4 separate regions of the Homo sapiens genome follow, and all the other regions are linked to region 4. The links are contacts of gene promoters, found by promoter capture Hi-C in human tissues and cell types (Jung and others, 2019). All regions are on one chromosome and are shown on one strand. Each heading gives the region's core, a stretch centred on a gene start or on the middle of the fragment in contact. The rest is flanking DNA. Distances are from core to core; before and after follow the strand shown.

What was found. Contacts are between HindIII fragments. The study calls those that stand out against the background at their distance.
Region 1: a contact is called between a fragment that was not itself captured here and the fragment with the promoter of HAO2 in region 4, in 1 of the 25 tissues and cell types used here (thymus).
Region 2: a fragment that was not itself captured here is called in contact with the fragment with the promoter of HAO2 in region 4 in 1 of the 25 tissues and cell types used here (pancreas).
Region 3: a contact is called between a fragment that was not itself captured here and the fragment with the promoter of HAO2 in region 4, in 1 of the 25 tissues and cell types used here (aorta).

The regions. Positions count from the first base shown.
Region 1 is chr1:119,234,453-119,237,451 of GRCh38, forward strand. All of the region lies in intron 4 of WARS2-AS1 (WARS2 antisense RNA 1), which reads left to right. Among named protein-coding and RNA genes, the nearest start is that of LINC01780, 92 kb to the right of the region's middle. The HindIII fragment of the contact is 3,453 bases long and covers 1-2,999 here.
Region 2 is chr1:119,128,847-119,131,561 of GRCh38, forward strand. The region is part of intron 1 of WARS2 (tryptophanyl tRNA synthetase 2, mitochondrial); the gene reads right to left. Among named protein-coding and RNA genes, the nearest start is that of WARS2-AS1, 10 kb to the right of the region's middle. The HindIII fragment of the contact is 4,877 bases long and covers 1-2,715 here.
Region 3 is chr1:119,595,796-119,598,569 of GRCh38, forward strand. It overlaps LINC00622 (long intergenic non-protein coding RNA 622), which reads right to left. Exons shown (of 1, transcript NR_036540.1): 1 at 1,907-2,774. It also overlaps the pseudogene GAPDHP33. Among named protein-coding and RNA genes, the nearest start is that of LINC00622, 2.1 kb to the right of the region's middle. The HindIII fragment of the contact is 4,404 bases long and covers 1-2,774 here.
Region 4 is chr1:119,367,525-119,370,577 of GRCh38, forward strand. It overlaps HAO2 (hydroxyacid oxidase 2), which reads left to right and starts at 1,261. Exons shown (of 8, transcript NM_016527.4): 1 at 1,261-1,378. It overlaps HAO2-IT1 (HAO2 intronic transcript 1), which reads left to right and starts at 1,422. Exons shown (of 2, transcript NR_046780.1): 1 at 1,422-1,484; 2 at 2,560-2,807. The HindIII fragment of the contact is 9,840 bases long and covers 1-2,085 here.

The DNA of each region.
Region 1 (2,999 bases), core at 177-2,676, 130 kb before region 4:
CAAAATGCACTGAATTAGGAGTCAGAGGGCTAGGCTGCCATCTGTCACTTTTACTTATGTGCTGTGTGGGCTTGGGCAAACCATTCAACTTTTGGGGCTCAATTTTCTCATTGGTAAAACAGTGATGGTAGGAGAGAGGTCCTTGGAAAGTCTTCACTTTCTAGGATTGTGGGATTGAATCTTCTCAAGAGGTTGTGGATACTTCCTAGAGCAAAACAAGCACTCCAAACATGCTGGCTCCTTCCTTCATTTCTTCCTGCAGTACTGAGCACTGACAAGGCTACAGTAAAGCTGGCTCTGCCAAACAAGAATAGCATGATCTGCGACGTCTGCCTGCTATACCCTGGCCCAGCCACTCAGTGTTCCTGCTGCTTGGTGGGTGGAAGAAGACATGAGCCGGTGATGCTACCTGAGCAGATGGAAACCTTGTCTCTTAAGACTTTAAGCACTTGGGGAGCAACTAACTCTTTTCCATATTTGGATTTCAAAATAAAATCCCTAAACTGGATAGCAATCTAATTTAAAACTAGAATGACCAAGTGGTTCCATTGATCAGAGTCTGAGAAATAGAAAAAGCAGCTCCACCAGAAATATTTAGAAAAGGAGGCTCTGAGCTGAGGGTGGGCCTAGTTTGGGAGGCATCAGCATGAGGAACTGGAAGTGGACAAGGACAAGGACAAGGATGCCTTAACATTTCTTCATCAATGGCCAACGGCTTTGTAAGAGAGGATTCCCCACTTGGGATCAATAAGCAGTTCTCAGCTGATATTCCTTAAAGCATATGAAAGTGTGGAAGCAATCATACTGTGGGGGAGTTTCCATGAGGCTCCAAGCATGCTTAAGTGAAAGAATGAAAGCTGCCTAGAGAGCTCAAGAGAGAGGAAGAGAAACAGCTGTGAGCATCTCTGGAAGAAAGAAATGTATAATATATGCACACGGGGTGGGAAAGAGAGCAAAGGAGTGGGGAAAACAGCAGGAAACAGCATATTTCCATTCATTTCACTTTTAAAAACATAATTGTTTAAAAAAATTCAGGGACTGGTTCATACTATATGAGAATTTGCTTTTTAAAAAATGAGCAAACAAATCAGGCTTTAACTTAAAAATTACAATAATGCCACCTTTACTATTCACTATCTCATCAATGTGGGCTTGACAGTACTTACTAGAATAACAAGGTTTAATATTTTAGTAGACAGTAGAATTTAATGCTACACACACTGAATTTAACTTGCACTTAGCTTGAAATTGGATGAAATTGGACAGACTGATTCAAAGATGGAAATCAGGTCTATACTGCTTCTTCTTTAGGGTAGATTAAAGGATTGTTGGTCTATAAAGCAATCAAGATGATAGGAATATGTGTTGAAAAACTAAATTAAAAGCAAGATGGAAAAGGGGGAGGTAGCTGCCACCTAGTATGCTGTACCTCGACTTAATCTTTCTGAGTCTTGGTTTCCTCATCTGCAAAATGATTATAATACCACCCATTTCATAGGCTTGTTGTGAAGATAAGGTTACACAAGGACTTACAACAGCTCAGTAGATACTGAGTAAATAAATGGTTTACTTTCTCTGGCAGACCCCTCTGCCCAGATCCACAGTCACCAGTGTTCCTGGCAATCATTTGTTGGCTGCCATGTAGAAATAAATGACATGTCATCTAAGGCAAATAAGGTATTGTAGAAATAAATGACAAGTCATCTAAGGCAAATAAGGTATTGTAGAAATACATGACATGTCATGTATTGTCATATAAGGCAAATTGGGTATTGGTGACTGGATCTAAGTTTTCCCTTTTTCCAACCTTGAGGGATGGGAGTTAAGTTAGGAAAATGGATATTTTGTCTTTCTTTCTGTGTCAGAGACTTGTTGGTTAGGAGTAGGAGATGATGGCTATTTTGATGTCTCCGTTAATCATAGACTAGATGGTTACCAGGCAGCTGAAACATTTTCTGGCATGGTTGACTTACTGCTGCCCTATAGGGAGATAGCTTTACAGAGGTTCCCAAAGGAAACTCAACAATGTGTCCACTCCTCTTGGATATTATGCTAGGCACGTTCAAATGCAACATCTCATTTGCCCTTCAGATTTGCCATGGTAATATCTCCACTTTAAGGAAGAAAAGACTTAACTGAGAAGGATTGAATTGTTTGCCTGCATACTTATTTTTTTCAGTATCTATACTGAAACTAGAGGTAACATTGAGCCTGAGTTCCTTGTGAGCTGGTAGAAGATGAAGGAAATAAGAAAGGGTAAGGACCAAGCTTGTCAACACTGATTTCAAGTCTCCATTGCTTCTGCTGTGTACATCTCTGCAACGTTCTCAAGGCACCTCTGGAGTTGTCCAGCACACAGAGAATCTCTCCAGCCATCCACAGCACCCCTCAAAGCCTAAGCTCAGGAAGTCAGCCACAGCCCACTCTGCATGCCAGTGCAGACAGCTACCCATGGAAGGACCTGTTTCAGAACTCACTTTATTTCATCAATGAGCTTCATTTCACTGACAAGCAAACATGTCTAGGTCGGCCATGAGTGATTCTCTAGGGAGAGCTGAGTTACGGGATGATTCGCAAGTTTCTCATACATATATGATATATATGATATATGTATATATGAGATAGATATATATATATAATCTCACTTAATTCTTGCAACCACCCTATGAAGTAAACATTATTACTCTCTACAGACAAAAAAGTTCAAGGTGGTTAGGAGGTTTGCTGAAGGTCACAAGAAGTGGCAAAGCAGTAAGGCACAATGCTGTCTAATACTGAAGTCTTTCCACCTCACCGTAGGATCTCTCAAATAATTAATACTTACACTAAAATGGGGGGCATCAAACCTGGGCTCTGTGATTTAAAGTCTGCTGCTTTCCTAAATGAAATTCTTCCACTATAAAGTTAACTTTATCCCTTCATCCCCTATACCAAGATAAATTCATGGATCAGAGATTGGAAGAGTGATTGTTCCTTGTAAGGCATCTCTTAAATTTATG
Region 2 (2,715 bases), core at 77-2,576, 240 kb before region 4:
CCTGCTAGTTAGATGGAAAAGAAAGACAAGAGGGCAAGCTGTGTCTCTATTTTAGTCATAGATATGTTCATATATTCTCAATCAAAATTAAGGAAATATGGTCTGCTAAAGAAGTTTTGTTCTATTTTAGAATGTTAGAAATGGTGCAGGAGATGTCATGTGGATGCTGAAACACTGAAATTTCAAAGACACTTTAAAGATTTATGGTTATAAAGTATAACTGGTTCTGGATTTTACAAGATGTCTGGCCACTGTAGTCACAGACTGCAAGAGAATGTTTGTGTCCTCCCAAAATTCATATTTTGGAACCTAATTCCCAATGTAATGGCATTAGGAGGTGCGGCTTTTGGGAGGTGATCAGTGCCCTCATAAAAGAGATCTCAGAGAATGAACTAGGAAGGAAGCCCTCACCAGACGTGGATGTGTCAGCACCTTGATCTTGGACTTCCCAGCCTCCAGAACTGTGACAAATAAATGTCTGTTGTTTATGATACCCAGTCTATGGTATATTGTTATAGCAGCTTGAATACAGTTAGACATAGATTTACCAGAAAGATGCCACAATCAAACCCGTCCTCTTGGCCAGGCAGAGTGGTTCACACCTGTAATCTCAACACTTTGGGAGGCTGAGGCAGGAACACCATTTGAGCCCAGGAGTTCGAGATCAGACTGGACAGCATAGTGAGACCTTGTGTTTAATAAAAAACAAAAAAATCAGCCAAATGTGGTGGTTTGTGCCTGTAGCCCCAGCTACGCAGGAAGCTGAGTATCACAAGGAGGATCGCTTGAGTCCAGGACATCAAGGCTGCAGTGAGCTATGACTGCACCACTGCACTCCAGCCTGGGCAACAGAGTGATACTCTATCTCAAAAAATAAAAATAAAAAAAAAATAAAATAAAATAAATCCCATTCTCTCTAACAGATATGATATAGCACAATTAAAGGTTTTATTAAACATGTAATGACAATTTGGTAAGCAAGCATTGCAATAAAGCTTTCCTGACCAACTACTATAATATCACTGGCCACTTTAAAAGAAGAAAATATAAATTCTTTGCACAACCTTGGCTATATAGATATAAAATCTGCTTGAATCACATTTCTCTGCATTTATCAAGGTGCAAAGAAAAATGAAGTTGCATTAGCTTACAAATGGCCTGTCTACATCGTGTAACGGTGCAGTGAGACCTAGGGCTGTTCTCTCCATCTATGCAGGGCATACCAAGATCTACAGAGCAAAAGTGCTAGGCATGGTTTGACAGGTTGCTTAAATGGGACTTAAGGTGGGTAAATGAGAAAAAAAAAAAGGCAATGTCAATACAATAAATGAGCTTTTTATTTCCTTTATAAGTTGAAGAAAGCATACTCTTGATTATAAAAGCAAAAACCACATCAGTTGTTGTATAGATAATATGGCACACTTATTGAACTAGACAGTCCTTTGAGACAAAACCATACTCAAAATAAAATCTTTTCATCTCAATCTTGAGTATGTCTACACTTTTCTATATACAGATGTAACAAACCTCAGTATAATATAAAGAGGTGGCAAATCCTAGTATAATTAGTGGTACCTGTGAAAAATACAATTAGGGCCAGAGTGACAATAAAAGTCAGTTAAGCGACAAGTTTGAAATTCATACCCTCTCAGAAAATTGTTGAAATAAAATTGGTATGACCTTCCAATCATTTATAAACATGTGGATACTTTGGGCAATAATAAGATCACTTATTAACTGCAACAAACATTACACAACTTTTGTAATTAAATAAATAAAAATGCACACAAAAATGTATGGTTTAAGTTCAACAATCTCCTTGATGACAATGCTATGCACTGTCTCATGTGTTGTCTCACTGATTTTTTTTCACTGAATTCATTCACTCATTAAATACTTATTGAGCTCCTTCTGTAACAGGAGTTATTATGCCAAAGATTTAAGAATTAAATCTTTATTATAATAACTCATTTTCTCACACACATAGTTATCACAGCCACGGCTCAACAGGCAAATCTTCCTGTCTTTCATGACTGGTGGTGGCCTCTAGAAACATACTGCCTGGTGAGGTCTGCCTGTTGAGTAGCAGCTTATGCTGCACCTGTGGTATGGTGCATACTAAACTGTTTTCTGCTGAGGTATTCACAAAAGGTCTAAATGAAAAAGAGCATGCTCTTCCATCTATCTTAAAGCAAATGTCTAAAAACAGAGACAGAATATAAAGGATGTATTTTTTTCTATAAGAGAGATACAATGTCCTATAAAATTTCAAAATGGAAGCAATCATTTCCAGCTTAAGAACAAAGTTTTTGGAACCGATATCTGAGGTTTTTTGGTTGTTGCTGTTTGTTTTAAAACACTTTATTGTGGTATAATTGACATTGCAAAAAGCTGTACATATTTCTGTTTTGTTTTTAAAGAATGATAGAGTACAGACAGATAAGGATAGGAAGAAAGGCCTTTCCAAGAAGAGGTAATGGCATTAATAAGGAAGTAAAAGGGAGTAGCTCCGAGGAAACTTGGAAATTTTGTGAACTCTAGGGCAAAGGATCTATGTAAGATAGCAATGGTCTAGAGAGGTATTTTGGATCCGGACTGTGCAAAGTTTTTTGTTTTTTGTTTTTTTTTTTTTTGAGACGTAGTCTCACTCGTGTCACCCAGGCTGGAGTGCAGTGGCGCGATCTCGGCTCACTGCAAGCTCCGCCTCCCGGGTTC
Region 3 (2,774 bases), core at 149-2,648, 230 kb after region 4:
ACAAGGGAGACTATTGTTCCTACACTGGAATGCAGACTCCCATTGTGAGCCCAGCATTTCCTGACCATTTATGCATCAGTATTAAATAGGAGGATGGAGAAATCATGCTGTCTATTTTTTTGCTGATCAGTAATCTTTGTGAGCTTTCCTAATACCGCTTTTTTTTTTCTGAGCATAGACAGGGGACTTTATTGGTGGTACACGACAAGGTGGGGTTCCCTAGGCCCCTCCCTCTTCAGGGGGTCTGCATGGAAACTGCATGGAGGGGAGAATCTCAGTGTGGTGGGGGACTGAGTGTGGCAGGGACTCCCCAGCAGCTGAGGGCCTCTCTTTTCCTCTCATGCTCTCGCGGGGCTGGTGGCCCAGAGGTCTTACTCCTTGGAGGCTATGTGAGCCATGAGGTTCACCATCCTGTTGCTGTACCCAAATTCATTATCATATGAGAAAATGAGCTTAACAAAGTGGTCACTGAGGGCAATGCCAGTCCCAGGATTGAAGGTGGAAGAGTGGGTGTCAATGGTTAAGCTGGAGGAGGCAACCTGGTTCTCAGTGTTGCACAGGATGCCCTTATGGGGGCCTTCTGATGCTGCTTCACCACCTGCTTGATGTTATCATATTTGGCATGCTTTTCCTGAGGGCAGGTCAGGTTCATGACCAACATGTTCGTGGTGGGGACCTGGAATGCCATGCTAGTGATCTTCCCATGCAGCTCATTGATATACTTGCCCACAGCCTTGAGAGTGCCAGTAGATGCAAGGATGATGTTCCTTTGAGCCCTGCAGCTGTCATGCCACAGTTTCACAGAGGGGCCGTCCACAGTCTTCTGGGTGGCAATCATAGCATTTACTGTGGTCATGAGTCCTTCCACTAAATCGGAGTTGTCATGGATGATCTTGGCCAGAGATGCTAAGCAGTTGGTGGTACAAGAAACACTGTTGATGATCTTGAGGCTGTTGTTATATTTCTCATGGTTCATACCCATCACAAACATGGGGCTGTCAGCAGAGGGGTTAGAGATGATGATCCATTTAACTGGCCCCTACAAATGAGCCACACACTTCTCCATGGTAGTGAAGACGACACTGGAGTCTATGATGTACTTGGTGCCAGCATTGTCCTATTTGATTTTGGTGGGATTTAGCTTTTGGAAGATCGTGGTGGGATTTCCATTGATGACAAGCTTCCTGTTCTCAGCCTTTACGGTGCCATGGAATTCACCACGGGTGGAATCATACTGGAATACATAGACCATGTAGTATGGAATTTGTAGACTATGAAGGGGTCATTGATGGTGACAATATCCACTTTACCAGTTATAAGTAGCCTTGGTAACCAGGCAACCAATGGGGCCAAATCCATTGACTCTGGCCTTCACCCTTACCATGGTGTCTCAGGGATGCGGCTGGCGCTGCACAAGAAGATGCGGCTATCTGTCGAATGGGAGGAGCAGAAAGCTACAGCATATTATTTAACCCATAGTTATCATATTGAGAAATTCTTCACACACTCTGATGTCAATAGGTGGTGACTCGGGTGGGCACCACTTGACATAGCAGGCTGACATTCCCTGAGCATGTGGACAATTCAGTTGTCTCAGTGTCACTTGTTTAAAAGACAATCTTTTTCCCTATTGAATTTGCTATTGTCAAAATCAATTGGCCATATGAATTTAGGCCATTAACCCACACATAGGCAAAACTTCCCTCAAAATAAAATAAAGGCCTAAATTTAAGGGCTAAACTATACACCTCTTAGAAGAAAACATAGATTATTATATTCATGATCTTGAATTAGGCAAAAACCCAACTTTTCCTGGTTAAAAAATAGTTGAAAAATGAAACAGGATCAAAACTAAAAATGTTGGCATTTAAAAGCCACCAATAAGAAAATGAAGAGATAAACCAGAGACTGAGAAAAAAAATTCAAATCATATATTTAATACAGGACTCATATCCAGAATATGAAATACACTTACAACTACGCAACAAAAAGATAAATAACCCAATTTTAAAATAGGCAAAATATTTGAATAACCATTTCATCAAAAAGGTGTAGGAATAGACAATAAAATACATGAAAAGATGGTCAGCATCATCAGTCAGCAGGGACATGCAAATCAAAACTACAGTGAGACACCACTTCTTACCCACTAGAATGCTATAATAAAAAAGGACAGTAACACCTGGGGGAAGTGAAATAATGACGTGGAAAAACTAAAACACTCACGCATTGTTGATGGGACATGCAGTCACGTTGGAAACCAGTTTGGCAGTATCTTAAAATGTTGAAGATATATTTACCATATGACCTAGCACTATCACTTCTAGCTATCTACCCAGAAGAAAAAAACCTATGTCCACACAACACATGAATGTGAATATTCATAGCAACTTTATCCATAATTGTCCATAAAGTAGAAACACTCAAATATGTATCAACTGATAAATGAATAAACTAATGGGAGCTATCCATACAATTTAATAGGATTTGTCCCCTAACAGGATTAAAATATTGATATGTGCTGCCACATACATGAACCATAAAAGTATATTAAAGTAAATGAAAGAAGACAGATACAAAAGACCACATATTGCATGATTTCATTTATATGGTCTCCAGAAAAGGCAAATCTGTAGAGTCAGAAAGTCAATTAGAGGTTGCCTGGAGCTGGGGACTGGGAAAAAGTGGTGGTGACTGATGAACATAGGGGATTTCTTAGGAATGATAGAAATGTTGCAAAACAGGATCATGGTGATGGTCACACAAGTCTAAAA
Region 4 (3,053 bases), core at 11-2,510:
GCAAGGGAGGGTCTGGATCAGGGGACTGTGAGCAGGCCAGGTGTTGTGAGAGCTGACCGAGGACATGGCCTAGAGGCTGATTATGGAGATTGTGAAAATTGCTATGGAAAAGAAATTTCCAGAACCCAGATTTTGGCTACTTTTGAAAGCATTTTTGAGGTAATACTGTCCTCTAGTGGCTAGATAGCAGGTAGGGATTACCCTCCAAATAAATAGCCAATGAGCCTTGAGTGGAGATGGTATGACAAGTCAGTGGTAAATTCATCATTTTGCTCTCTAACTACAGGTTCTAAAGGAAAGGCAAACCCCACTGCTATGGTCATCGGTACAGCTCAGGATTTCGGCCTCCTCTGCTCCGTGTGTTGGCTACAGGCTAGGTTCAAATCCCAATTCTGCTCTTTACTGCTGAAAGGCTTTGGGCATGTTCGTTAATCTCATTTTCTCTTCTGAAAAAGAGACAATCTTGAAAAGATTGACCTTCCGTGAAGATCAAATGAAGTAATGCGTGTAGTGTGTCTGGCACGTCGTAAGCGCATCACACACGTGAGCTGTGGCAATACTAAGGAGCAGTGGCAAGAGCTGGGGGAGGAGTGGAGACGAACAGACCTGGACAAATTAGTGACCTTTCTGGGACCCCTACAGAACTCTTCTGGAGAAATTAATTCTATTTTTCCATGTACTTTTAAGTTTGCTTTTCCTAGCATTTCTTCTACATTCCTGAATAATTTTCCACTCAAAAATTTCACTGGTTCTCCCTGACTCCCATATTAATCTAGACATAATTACTTCCCCAGAACAGTTCTGTGGGCAGGGAGGGCTCTACACTATGCACCCTCCAAAATCCCCAAAGCTCGGACCGTCCTGGCCTGGGTCCCCACTGCTGTCCTGCCCATGGGCTCCCAGGCTGTGCTTGCTCTTCTCCCACCCCAACCCCATCACCACAAAAAGCCCCTCCTCCAACCCGGGGACTTTTGTAATTTCCTACCTGAAATCATCCACTCCCTACCTCTAACAATCTGTGATGAGCAGAGGACAACATCAAGTTTGAATTTAGAGGTAGGGAATGGGTGATTTCAGGTAGGAAATTACAACTTCACTTTGAAGTTTAATTTTGTAATAAACTTCACTTAATTTTGAAGTAAATTTGCAAAGTCAGCAAAATTCTTTCAAAGTCAACCTTGCTCTGGCCTAGTTGCTTATTTACTGCTAAGCTGGATGTTTTCATTAAAAGATTAACTTTGAGACTTCAGCCTCTTCTTTAGCCTGAACTGTGGGTAGTGATGTGGTGTGTTTCCTAACACCTCCGGCAGTGAGCCAGGCTTTGAGTGGCTGCGTCTAAACACTTCTTTCCCTGAGGACTGGAAGACATTAGAATAAGGTTTGTCATTGAGTGTGTTCTGTGTGCTTGGAACTGAGAAGGGTGATGAAGTGCCAGATAGGATGGGAATGGAAGATATCGTGGAAGCCAACTATGAGTTTGCAAGGCAAGGACCTTGGCAAAGATGGTCCTAGGGAGACAGGTGTTAGGGAACTCAGAGGGCATGGGCAAAGGAAGATTTGGTTTCAAAAAGGATACAGACAGAGAAGGTTAAGTCTAGGAAGTTGAGTCTTAGAATTGTATGGTGGAATATTCGTGGGTGTCCATAGGAGGAAAAATGGGTTAAAATGTTTTCACTTGACAGCGTTCTGAAAACCTAAAAGGTATTGCTATTGCCTTCAGGGATATATTTAGTATTCTGACCACTGCTTCCCGGCCACAAGCAAAAGAAAACAGTGACATGGCTATGCTCCTAAAAAAGTAAAGAAGTTAATGTGTCTCAAACAATGTAGTTCCTTTGAGCAATAAGCTTATTTGGAACAAATGGGTTACAAAGTCCCACTAATGAAGAGCCTCTGATTGTGTTAAGTTGAATCTACAGATCAACCTGCGGAGAACTGCCAAGAACGCTAATGAAGACAGGGAGGTACTGGTATAAAGATAGATAACAGATCAATGGAACAGAATAAAGCGTCCATTAGCAGGAAGCAAAATCCGCAAACTTTTATTCTTAACTACTACTATATTCTGCATTTTACAAGATCCTTCAATTCTCACAAGATCCCTATGAGATAGACAGTAATAACCTAATTTAAAGATAGATGAGAATTGGAGCTTGTCTAGAATAGATTGAGTGGAACATCACTTGTGGTATATCATTTGAGAGGTAATGGGAATATTGCCAAATTCCCAGGTAACTCTCCCCTCAAAGGGACTCCTGTTGTACTCTAAATCGTATCAGCTATCAAATGATGAGCTATGAAAGTCTGTCTTCTTCGACTGTAAGCTTCTTGAGAGCAGAAACTGATGTGATAAAGGTCCCCCCCCATATCTCTAGTGTTTAGCATAATACTTTGATATATTATGTTAAATCAGGCTATGTTATAGTAAAGAATAAACCTTAACAACTTAGTGAGATAACACATAAATATTTATTTCTTCCTTACACAATATCAGCTGATCTCCAGGGCTACCCTTTTCCAAATGGCGTTTTGGGAATCCAAGTGGCCTTTCTCTTACAGCTTTGCCTTCTTGAGGATGGAGGATCGCTGTAGAGGAGGAAACAAAGCTGGAGGGTCACATACCAGCTCTTCAATCCTTGGCCTAGAATTCACACCTGCTATTCCCACTCCCAGGCCATTGGCCAGAAGAACTAGTCACAGAGCCATGCCTGTATTTAAGCAACAGCGAAATGTTAAGCATGTGGGGAGCAGTATATGCCTCCGCCACCCTGGCTGAGAGTGTGTGTCAATAAACCTTCTTGGATAAACTAATGAGTAAATCTGACAGAGGGTTTAAATTATACTATGACAGAAATACTCAAATCCTGAAGCAGCTTTCCACTTCCAGAGCCTCAGATGAAATCACACATGTCATCAACAGGAGGAATAATGAACATGGAGCTGCCTTTATTAACAATCTAGTCTATACAAGGCACTGTTCTAGAAATTTCAAAGGGGCCATACTGCTTAGTCCTCATGGCAGCCCTATGGGATGGATGTTAATATTCTCCTTT